Linked DNA regions of Homo sapiens: all the other regions are linked to region 2. Evidence: promoter capture Hi-C in 16 types of primary human blood cells and fetal thymus (Javierre and others, 2016). All regions are on one chromosome and are shown on one strand. Each heading gives the region's core, a stretch centred on a gene start or on the middle of the fragment in contact. The rest is flanking DNA. Distances are from core to core; before and after follow the strand shown.

Evidence for each region. The method cuts DNA at HindIII sites, captures the fragments that hold promoters and counts their contacts. A CHiCAGO score of 5 or more calls a contact.
Region 1: a contact is called between a fragment that was not itself captured here and the fragment with the promoter of WDSUB1 in region 2, in 1 of 17 cell types (neutrophils). The highest score is 6.8, in neutrophils.
Region 3: a contact is called between a fragment that was not itself captured here and the fragment with the promoter of WDSUB1 in region 2, in 1 of 17 cell types (total B cells). The highest score is 5.0, in total B cells.

What each region holds. Positions count from the first base shown.
Region 1 is chr2:159,897,225-159,900,816 of GRCh38, reverse strand. LY75-CD302 (LY75-CD302 readthrough) reads left to right here. Exons shown (of 38, transcript NM_001198760.1): 2 at 1,758-2,129. LY75 (lymphocyte antigen 75) reads left to right here. Exons shown (of 35, transcript NM_002349.4): 2 at 1,758-2,129. Among named protein-coding and RNA genes, the nearest start is that of LY75, 5.7 kb to the left of the region's middle. The HindIII fragment of the contact is 3,516 bases long and covers 388-3,592 here.
Region 2 is chr2:159,284,384-159,288,429 of GRCh38, reverse strand. It overlaps WDSUB1 (WD repeat, sterile alpha motif and U-box domain containing 1), which reads left to right and starts at 1,727. Exons shown (of 11, transcript NM_001128212.3): 1 at 1,727-1,847. RefSeq lists silencers at 1,598-1,767, 1,454-1,893. The HindIII fragment of the contact is 12,257 bases long and covers 1-4,046 here.
Region 3 is chr2:159,934,915-159,938,966 of GRCh38, reverse strand. PLA2R1 (phospholipase A2 receptor 1) reads left to right here. Exons shown (of 30, transcript NM_007366.5): 30 at 1-4,052. Among named protein-coding and RNA genes, the nearest start is that of LY75-CD302, 32 kb to the right of the region's middle. The HindIII fragment of the contact is 160 bases long and covers 1,449-1,608 here.

The sequences.
Region 1 (3,592 bases), core at 896-3,395, 610 kb before region 2:
ATCCTTAGCTGCAATCCTGTGGAATACTTTTAAAATTCAGATTTAAAATAACTTTAAGCTTTAAAGGATTGTTGTTGCTGTTGTTGTTTCTCTTGTCGTTGCTTCTGTTATTTAAAACAAAACAAAAAAATCCTTCCAAAGTTCAAGCTGCAGTGAGACTTAATTTTATAGTTATTATTTACATGGTAAAATTCCCCTCAAGTCACCAGTCCCTGGTATGGGAATTTTTAACTCTGAAAGCCTTTGAATTATTACTAGGAAAAGCATCTGGTGTTAGTGAAACCAGTGACTGTGAAGCTGGTATCAAAATGAAAGTGCCTTTTGGGAACCAAAATTTTACAGGTCTTTCTGCTGAACTCTGGTTCACTGACAGTGATTGCTTAAGCTTGTCTAAAATATTTCAGCTTTACTCTTATCAACATGATTTGTGCTGTAATTGTTTAAAATTTTCCTTTGTAAAATAACTAACCAAATTATCTGATTATAGTTTGTTGTAACAGATGTGAATCTTATTCCACAAACTCAGGTGTGCAAGAAACAATGCATTACTTTATTTTCAGAAATCCAAATTAAATTTGATGCTGAGCTCCCATTCCACCAGGTTGCCAGAACTTCAATAATTGTCCTTACTGGGGTCTTTGCCAGCTCATGCAAAGTGCCAGGGGAACATTCAGGGAGGATTCTTCTTTAGTCATTGGATCCCGCTGGTTACCTCTGGGTTTTCCATTGTCCAAACCCACAGGATCTTGTATCTGGTGGCTCAAGACTCATCAGCCATCACTTTGGTAGTTCCTGGAGTTTGGGGTTCAGCCTTCTTAGGTGATCCACACTGTCAATCCCCCCAGGCTTTCCCCAGGCCCTGTCGCCTTCCTGAGGGTGCCACAAGCCAGTGTATGGCTGGATAGTTGCAGACGACTGTGATGAAACTGAGGACAATGAAACTGCCACAGTGGAGCTGGCCACAGGTTCTACCCTCAGAACCCAGACCTCTGTTTCTTCTTGTTTCTGTACCCCACTGTTCTGCTGCTCCCTCAGAAATTTCCCCATTTCCTCTGAGATACCTCAATGAATTTAGGTCTCCAAAAAATATCTAGGGGGAAGTGGTCTTTAAGAAAATTGTCCTTAAGTTTTCCTTTTTAGTGGCCCCACTAACTTGCCCTAAGGCAGAGGAGCACAGAGGCCTCACTATGTACTTGGATCTGAAGAAAGGAACATATATATAGTGCACATGCTGTGTTAAGCATCGACTTTTCATGTAATAATTTACCCTGCCGTAGTAGCTAACATGTAAGCAAGGCAGAATTATGGTCCCAACTAGACTTTTCATTGAGATGAAAACTAAAGAGCTTCTTTTGTCTTATTAAATGAGAAGGGAAAAATCTTTCATGAAATAGCAACAACAAATATACATGCTACTCTACACGCTTTACATGGATTAGCTCCTTTCATGCTCACAACCATCATATGAAAACTGGAGCACAGAGGTTAAATGATTTGCCCTGATCCTATGGCTAACAAGTAGCAGGAGCAAAATATGGACCCAGGCGGACTGGCTCCAGAGCCCGTGTTCTGACCCTACACACTGCACTGCCTCTCTGCTCACCACTGTCCCACCTTTTGTAGTCCCCTGCAGCTTAAAAAGAGTGGGAACAGACTGAGGATGGGAACAGTCCAGTAGTGCTCAGACTCTCCTCAGCAGGCAGGGAGCAAGGCGCTTCAACCACATAATCTACAATCTGTCTGTCCATTTGACTCAGCTAATGACCCCTTCACCATCGTCCATGGAAATACGGGCAAGTGCATCAAGCCAGTGTATGGCTGGATAGTAGCAGACGACTGTGATGAAACTGAGGACAAGTTATGGAAGTGGGTGTCCCAGCATCGGCTCTTTCATTTGCACTCCCAAAAGTGCCTTGGCCTCGATATTACCAAATCGGTAAATGAGCTGAGAATGTTCAGCTGTGACTCCAGTGCCATGCTGTGGTGGAAATGTGAGCACCACTCTCTGTACGGAGCTGCCCGGTACCGGCTGGCTCTGAAGGATGGACATGGCACAGCAATCTCAAATGCATCTGATGTCTGGAAGAAAGGAGGCTCAGAGGAAAGCCTTTGTGACCAGCCTTATCATGGTGAGTATTAGAGAGGGACTTTGACCGATTTGCTGTTGTGCTTGTCACATGTGGCATTAAACATGCACAATTTAGTAAAAATAGAGTCGTACATTAGTAAGGGCAGTGAGTAAGCTCTTCACTTCCAGGCACTGTGCAGTTACTTTGAGCGACATTCTTACAAGTCCATGGTATTTGCCTCTACTTTGCAGGTAAGGCTAAGAGAGATAAAGTGCCTTGTCTGAGGTCACACAGCCATGTTGTGATAAACCTGGGATTTCATCAGATAGATATGTACTTCTTATGATGGTCTTCTAAACCCTAGAGGAAAGGAAACCCTAGAGGAAAGGAATCATTAGATTTGTACAGGCTAAAAGTCAAATGATCTAATAATGTTGATCTTATTCTAAGTTTTAAAAGAAGAAGAAAGGTCAGGCGTAGTGGTGCATGGTTGCGGTCCCAGCTTCTCGAGAGACTGAGGCAGCAGGATCACTTGAGCACACAGGAGTTCAAGGCTGTAGTGTGTAATGATCACGCCTGTGAATAGCCACTGCACTTCAGCCTGGGCAACATAGTGAGACACCCATCCTTAAAAAAGAAAAGAAGGAGAAGGAGGAAAAATATATTTTTTCTTGCCTACGGATTTTGAATAAAATGGGAAAATTTTGAGTGGATTTTCTTATTTATTTTCATTTTTGCATGGCAACCAAATTTTGATGTTTATATTTATGATTCAGCATTTTAAGAGTGGAGTTTTTCAGTTGCTTCCGAAAATAAGTATATTAATATTGCCTTGCGGGGAGCGGACCATGGACTTAGCCCTGAGTCTAGGGACTGGATTGCAACTAATTTCTAAGTTAAAGAATGAGTAGATTTATTTTTTTAACCATTAAATGTAATTAGCTATCTCCCAAGCAAATATTTTTCATTATGTTGCTCTAAATTACACCAAATGTCGATATGCATATAATTATGTCCTCTAAGTCCTATTATTTCCCCTTGCCTTTCTTTACAAATTTCCCTAGCTTTACAGTGGCTTTCTTCTTCTCTTAAAGATCATTTAAGCTAAATTTGGCCTCAAAGTCACTATAGCAGCTTGCTCCCATACTTTCCATTATCCATCTGCACAAGTTTTTCTTTCTAGCTTTCTATTTCCTAGTGAGGATGCAAGAATTATTCTGAGAATGTCAAGTTCTGTTGTGGAGAAATATTAGAGAATTAGAGATAGGGTTTCCTTTTCATCATTCCCTGGCCTTTGAATAGTTGACAGTCTGTTTCTGCGAGCCAGTTTCCTCCTAAAAGTAAAGCAGTTGCTTTTTGGATATGACTTAATGGCAAATTTAAATTCTGTGCCACAAAAGCCCTTCTCCAACTTGCCAACTAAGAGGAAACACAGAGCCAAACAAAATGCCTTTTAATTGGATTTAACTTGTTTCATTGTATTTGTCCAGGGATCAGAAAGGATAATTTTCTTGGCAGGGTTC
Region 2 (4,046 bases), core at 478-2,977:
TCTCCTGTCTCAGCCTCCTGAGTAGCTGGGATTACAGGTGCGTGCCACCATGCCTGGCTAATTTTTTTCTATTTTTAGTAGAGATGGGGTTTCACCACGTTGGCCAGGCTGGTCTTGAACTCCTGACCTCAGGTGATCCACCCAGCTTGGCCTCCCAAAGTGCTGGGATTACAGGCGTGAGCCACCGCACCTGGCCTCCATTTCAATTTTTATCCTAAGTACATATTCATAAATATGGAAAAAGATTTATGTACATAACGTGGTAATATATTGAGGCTAAAAGAAAAAGATTTAGGTACAAAGATATTTAATCCAGCATTATCTACACTAAGATCAAAATTGTTGAAACCATCCAGCAACAGGGAAAATGTTAAATAATTTATGGTATGTTTATATGTAGACCATTATGTAGAAAAAAAAGCTAATGAAATTTTAGACATGGGAACAGCTCATGACACAAGTTTGTTTAAAAAGGCAGTTTCCAGGACTTTTTGTAAAATTAGTTTTTCTGAAAGACTGAGAGAAAATGTTATCTCTGAGTGGGTGATCTCTGAGGGGTGTAATTATTGACTATTTATTTTCCTGTTATATATTCTGTGTTTCCTACAGAGAGCTCTATTATTTATACAATCAAAAACTTGTTTTTAGAAAAATACTGTTTTGGCAATACTTTGGAATGGAATTTGGTGTTCAAAGTCTCAATCATGATGCACTCCGCTAATTTTAAAAAATTAACAAGAACTTCACAAAATCCTAATTTTTAATCTTCCCTTTCCCCTTAATCTTTTTCATTGCAAATAGTTTCCCACGGTCTCAATTTCATCTTTAAATGTGAGCATTTTAGGTCATTACTCTTCAAATGTAACTTCGGTCTCCACAGGCTGATATATTTTTAATGTTTCCTCATGGATTAAAAATAAAAGCTCTCTGTATCTTTGATTTTCATCTGAACATAGTCCCACACTATGTTGTGCATTTAGTTAACAAGTGGTAATTTGCTCAGGAACTTTTTTTTTTCTGGATAATTTTTATCTCAAAAAGCACTGGCAGGGCCACTTTGTAGTCAATGACACGTGGAAACCAGTCTACCGTGAGCCAGTGGGACGCACTGGGAAAGGCTGAAGAAAAGGCGCCCGGGGTTCCAGTGAGCTCAGGATACCCACCCAACGGCAGGGCTGGGGCCCGGGGCAGGCAGCCTGCCCGGGAGAGACCCCTAGGGGAACCCGAATGAGGAGGCGAGGGCAGAAGACGCCAAGTCACGGACCGCCCAGGGTGGCCGAAATAGAGAAGGCCAATCTGGGAGACCGGCCTCGGAGTACACAGTGCAGGGTGGAGAACTGGAGAAAGAGGTAAAAACTTTCAGCAGGGATGGCCGAACATTCCATGCAACGCCCCTTTAAAACGACGTTTCAGGCGATCACTAGGCCTTGCGACCGCAGCTTTAGCAAAAACAGAAAGATTTGCGACGGAAGTCCCTTTCCAAGCCTGAAATCGCCTTGACCCTAGGAGCCAGAAGCTGGGGAGGAACTCGCAGTCCGGGCGGAAGAGCGCGCATGCGCCGCCTCAGGGGCCGGTCCCGGGGGCGGGGCCTGTTCCCTCCGCCCTGGGTCTCCACAGGCTTTCGCGGGGCGGGGCCTACTCCCTCCGCTCTGGGTCACAGCGGGCGTTCGGGGGGCGGGGCCTGTTCCCTCCGCTCTGGGTCCCCGCGGGCGTTCGGGGGCGGGGCCTGTTCCCTCTGCTCTGGGTCTCCGCCGGCGCCCGCCCCGCCAGCCTCACCTGCGCGGCACGTGACCCGCACCGCCCGTGGGCACCTTGAAGGCGGATCCCGCGCGCCCCCGCTCCTGCAGGTGAGAGCGGCCGCGCCCACGGGCCGGCTCAGCGGCGGTGGCGGCAGGTGGGGAAGCGCGGCTGGGCCTGCTCGCGCGGGGCGTCTGAGCCCTCCATTTCCCGGTTCTAACCGCGCAGCAGGGCCCAACCGGGACCTTGAGTGCGGCGAGGCGTGGTTCGTGCACCCTTGGCCCGGGGCTAGGGCGGGCGTGTCGGCGTCGGGTGGAAGGAAGCCCCTTGCGGGTGAGCTCCCTGCCTCCCAGGCCTCCCTCTTGCCTGGGGTCGCTCAGTCCACAGAGGCCCGGCCGCTCATAGAGGGGGGCACATTCCTGGTCTTTCGTGCATGGGGGGTGTAAGTGGCGGACTTTATTTTGGGAGCGCTGGACACCTTTCGGGTTTGCTTTGAATGAGATGGGATTCATGTGTTTACGCTGGCCAACTGACCTGGTGTGCCCGGGAATTTACTGTTCGCGTGACAGCCGAGGCCCGAGGGAACGCCCACACCGCCCCCCCTACCCCAAGGCAGGTCCTGGGTAGGCCTGAGAGCTTTTTCAAAACAAACTGTTCAGCTGACGGTGGCCTCGGTACTTCCCACTGAATGCCCTGGAACTTGCAAAGGGAGCTGAGTGCGGCAGAGGGCTGGGAGCCGGAGTTTGTTTGGAAAATCACCTGTGCGCACTTGCACAGCTGGGATTTGCGAGCTCTCCAGAAAGCACCACCTGGTCTTGATTGTTTTCAAGACAGCAGTACAGGGATAGTCTACCAGAAATTTTCGTGTTTGGTTTTTAGGCTTTATTGGAGTTTATGTTCGAAGAAAAGAAGCTGAACTTATCCTAAAAGGATAAGATGAAGATAGGGAAAGGCATGCTCCTTATGCCTTAATATTTGTTTGATTGATTGATGGGGTCCTGCTCTGTTGCCCAGGCTAGAGTGCAGTGGTGCAATCACAGCTCACCGCCGGCGTCACCTCCGGGGCTCAAGTGATGCTCCCGCCTCAGCTTCTCGAGTAGCTGGGACTACAGGTGCTCGCCACCACACCCAGCTAATTATTTTTATTTTTAGAGAGATGGGGTCTTGCCTTGTTGCCCAGACTGGTCTTAAACTCTTGGGCTCAAGTGTTCCACCCATCTCGGCCTCCCAAAATGCTGGGACTACAGGTGTGCACCATCGCGCCCAGACTTTTTTTTTCTTTGGTAGAGGTGTTTCCGTAAATAAGACTAGGACAAAGGATTATCAATTTTACAAGTCAAGGTTATACCTGCCCCTTTCAGAGCTGATTCTGCCTCACTTGACACCAGTTTTCCACCGTCAGTTATGTTTCTGTGTGTGTATATATATTTAGTCTTGGTAGATTTTCTAATTTCATATTACATATGGATTATTTAAAGGCTGGAACTCAGTTGGGCTCGAACAAAATAAATATTCAACTTATATTTATTTAAGTACATTAGGTGCCTGACAGTTTTACATGGTGTGGATACAGAAATGAGCAAGATGGCAAAGTACCTACTCCTTTGGGATTTACATCCTAGTCGGAGGAGACAATTTAACAAATATCCGATGCTGGTGGTAATTGCTGAGAATATAGAGTGATGTGCTAGCCTAGGGAGTGGCTACTTTAAATAGGGAAACCGTCTCTGAGGAGAGACACTGAAATTGAGATCTAAATGACAAATAGGATCCCAAGAGCAGAGGCAAGAACATTTCAGCTTGAGAAAACCGCTTTATGGAGACGGAAGACTGTTAGGCCAAGGAGGCTGGAAAGAAGAGAGGGACAGTGGCCAGAGTTGAGATCTGAGAAGTGGGCAGGCGGGAATTATATAGGATTTTGATTACATAAGACTGTATAGGATTTTGTTTGCCATGATGAGTTTGATTTTATTCTAAATTTGTAAATTTGTTCTTGAGCGTGGTCTGGCTAAGTTCATTTTTTGACACTTTCTTAGGTTTTCTTTTCTTGGTTTCCTTGATTCATTCAGAGGTGGTTCCTCACCTCAAGTCTTTTGTATAATTTTACTATTTATCAGACAGGATGACAAACCATGATAGGACAGCTTTCAACATGGTCACTTATTAATAAATTTTCAATGAGACTTTTGTTGTTTTTTTTTAAGAGCAAATCCTACAGTTTGATTTTAAAGGCGGAGCAGATAGCCTTGGCTCCATCCTGTGAAGGGAACAGCTAAGATAGTTTATTAGAATAGAAAATACTTTTTGAG
Region 3 (4,052 bases), core at 279-2,778, 650 kb before region 2:
TAGAATCTGAGTAATGGAAATGCCTGGGTTTTTCCATTTAACAATATATTGGGCTCTTACAGTTACAACAGTCTTCTTTCGGGTTAAATATTTCTTCTCTTGAAGGGTCCACTCCTTATTAAAGATAAGATTGAACTGAATGTTTACTTAAACGTTCAGTCTTTTGGAGTTTCTTTACTCTTCTCAAAATGGTGGTTGGATATATAAGAACTTGCTGTGTCCTGGTAGTGTTGAGGGGAGAAGGTGACAACTTACTGTGGATGTATGTTAGCTGGTGTCCACTGAGAATAGCTGTCTGGCCTCACTCCTGGGAATTCTGCTGGCATCTGCTGTGAAGTCTGCAGTTGCTTTAATCTGTAGTCTGTTCTCTTTGATTTGGCCTCATTCTGGCTGTCCCTGGTGCTGTCTTATCTCTTGAGAACTGGCTGTGTCTCCTGTTGAATTCCCTATCCGAACACTGCAGTTCTTGGCTACAAGGCAGTCACTTCACCCCTGCAGTGGTGAGATCCCATTAGCTACCATTAGCTACTCTTTTCGTCCAGAAAGGCGAAATGCCATAGCAAACAATCCCACAGTCTTGGTGGATTAACACAGCAAAGGTTTATTTCTCACCCACACCTGCATGGGCTGGCAAGAGGACTTTGCTCTGTTCAGTCATTCATGGGTCCATGCTTCTCCTATATAGCCAGCCCTCTGTCTCCTAAGGCCTGGAGTCCTCCATGGGCCTCCAATCTGTGGCTGACAGAGGATGTTGACTTGAGACCCATCTTTGATTCATTATGGAGCTTCCACAGGCTGTTGAAATCCTCTAAGTCAAAAGTCCTCAAACTGGGGACACATGCCTAAGGAATACAGGAGCATGGGTATTTAAGAAACTTAATTTCCAGAATCTTCATGTATATTTTTTCTTAAAACTGATTTACCTGAGAGCACCCCTGGTTCTTCTTTCCCACCTCTCTTTACACAAATGCCTTTCTCTACCTTTAAAAAGAAAAAGAAAAAGAAATGGCTTTCATTTCAGATCTTACTATGGGAAAATCCTCCATGGCTCCAAAGAAAAATATTCGAAGTATTGATGTCAGTGAAGCTTCTTTTAATAAAGAAATTGTAAACTCATTCTGTAGATCCTCACGTCTTTCTCTGTGTTAGGACATTTTTCTGTTAAAGTTGAAGCGATGACTTAGAAATGAGTTATTTTGCCCCATGTTCATATTCTGAATTAATATGTATTATACAGTGGAACAGCTGGAGTGCTACTTTCATTTGAAAATTTATCTCATCCACTGCCTGACTATTGTCAGAGAACAAGCTGTAGAAAAAGTCTGGTGAAAGCAAAGTGAAGCATGTGTTGCCAAGAACCTAACATCTTATGTTATCCAGAAGAAAGTCCCAAGGCTTGATTTATCTTAGATTTCTATGTGAGTTGTGAGGATGAGTATTAACAAGCTTATTTGAACTGAAAAATGAATTCAGACCTTTTCTGAAGTTTTTTTTATTTGGCTCATTGGTTTGACAACAAGGATTGACTTTACCCATTAAGTTTTATGATGAACATTTTGTATTAATTGAATGAACTAAATCTGCTGCTCTTGTGTTCTGATTAAAGCTTGTAATAGGGTAAAGGCATTTTAATAGAAAAATAGTATTGACTGAACTATAATGAAGTGATATTTTACTTTTCCCAGCCTTCATTTGTATATCAGGTAAAGCAAGATGCCTGTAAGTGAAAGAGTAACAGGCATAATGAACAGTTATTTGAAGAGTCTTAGTAAAGCCTTTTAATTTTACTTGTAGGAAATTGACATGAATCATTCTAATGACTGGGTAACAAATCACTTTGCAAGTAGGGTGTTTCCACTTCTATGCTTTAAAAAAAACTGAAGGAGAACATAATCAAGCAGTTGGTTGATATAGAAAATAATTTTTAATGTAGAATCACTGATTTTTTGGCACCTATGAGAAAGGAATTCAAGTAATAGAGGGATATTGTTATAACAAACCTCCTTTTATTCCCATCTACTTATTTATATGAACAAAGTTTCTATGTTAAGATAAGTTAGAGAGTGCTGTGGAAACAAACCCTGTAATACTAGTGGTTAAAAACAAAACTCAGAAGTTAATTTATTGATCATGCGAAGCCTGCTATGGTCAGGACACTTGCCTCCAAGCAGTAACTCACAGATCCAGGCTGTGTCCTACCTCCAGAACATGGGGCTTCCAGTGCTGCTATGGCACTAGAGAACTGTTAAGTTCCCAGGTTTAGGAAGAAACACGTGGCACTTCCACTCGCGTGTCATTGGCTGGAACTAGTCACATGACCTAACCTAACTGAAAGGAAATCCAGGAAGTCTTCTGCTTTGTGTGCTCAGGAAAGAGAGGATAAGGGACTACAGACAGCACCAGCAATTGCTACCAGAGTTTCTCAACATGTATAGCTACAAAAAAAGAAGAGAGAGAACAGAATTGATGCTGAACCTTGATTTATACTAGCAGTTTTTAATACTAATTAATTTTTATCTATGATATATCCATTTCATTAACAGATCCATTTGCTATCATTTTAGTTTGACATATACTATCTTAATCTTTGTAACATATTTATTTTGTTCTGATCAATTGTATACTAACAATAATTGAAATGACAACTCAATATAGAAGAAAATGTGTAATACTTAGAGCCTATGTTCACAGGGACTTCTTAAAAAATAATTTTAGGCTGGGCGCGGTGGCTCACGCCTGTAATCCCAGCAACTTTGGGAGGCCGAGGCGGGTGGATCACGAGGTGAGGAGATCGAGACCATCCTGGCTAACAAGGTGAAACCCCGTCTCTACTAAAAATACAAAAAAATTAGCTGTGTGTTGCGGCGGGTGCCTGTATTCCCAGCTACTCGGGAGGCTGAGGCAGGAGAATGGCATGAACCTGGAAGTCGGAGCTTACAGTGAGCCGAGATGGCGCCACTGCACTCCAGCCTGGGCGACAGAGCGAGACTCTCTCTCAAAAAAAAAAAAAAAAAAAAAAAATTAATTTATATACATATTTTTACTGCAGGAAAATATGACAAGGTAATGAATAAAATATTTCACAAATTAAAGTATATCTCATTAGGATAAAATTCTGTGGGGGAGTTGGAATGGAAATACAAGATTGAAAGAAAGTAATATCTCTGACTGCTGAAGAGGTTATTTCTATTTTTAAATAGATTATGATAGAATTCAAATTGTTGTAGTATCTCCAGTCAAAGGAACTTAGGCTTCTTGAGAAAGTGGTTGATTGCAGGTCTAAGGCAGGAAAATACAAGATGAAACTGGAATATCTTGTGATGGCAGAAAATAAGGAGGTGCTCACAAAAAGATGGCACATGTCTGAAGGCTACAGGAACCAACCTGAAGGAGCTCTCCAGTGGAAATGCTGGAACAATTTGAGCAAACAATAAAAAATTATAATATTGGATTATAACCCACACAATAAATATCTGTGTGTCCATACTGATGTAAACAATTGAATGAGTGAATGAATGAATGAAAAGAAGAAACAGTTCTTCTCCCCAGTAAATTCCAATTGATAAATGTAGAAGAAATGGGAGAAACAAAAATCACTATCAGGAAAACACAACAGTAATAATTGTTGGCAAGACCTACCAGTTGGTGCAAAAGTTAGTGGGTGAATGTTTGAGGAAAAACAGAATATTTGCATAACCTTAGAGTATTTTCCCCAAAATAATCACTAATTACAAAGAGAAAGTAATAACTTTACAGTAGAGAAACTTCTTTAATCAAGGGATCAAGGTTAACAGAAGCAGTAATAAGCCACATCAGCATCATGTACCCCCTGGTATGGCATTGAGAAGGGCACATGACTTCTTTGGTATCCTCCCCAAAATGCATAATCTCAATCATGAAAAAACATTAGACAAATCCAAGTTGAGGGACATTCCACAAGATAAATGATCACTTCAAAAGTGTCCTGGTCATGAAAGATAAGGAAAGATTGAGGAAATGTCAAGGATTGGAGGACACTAAAGAGACATGACAACTACGTGCAAGTTGAAATC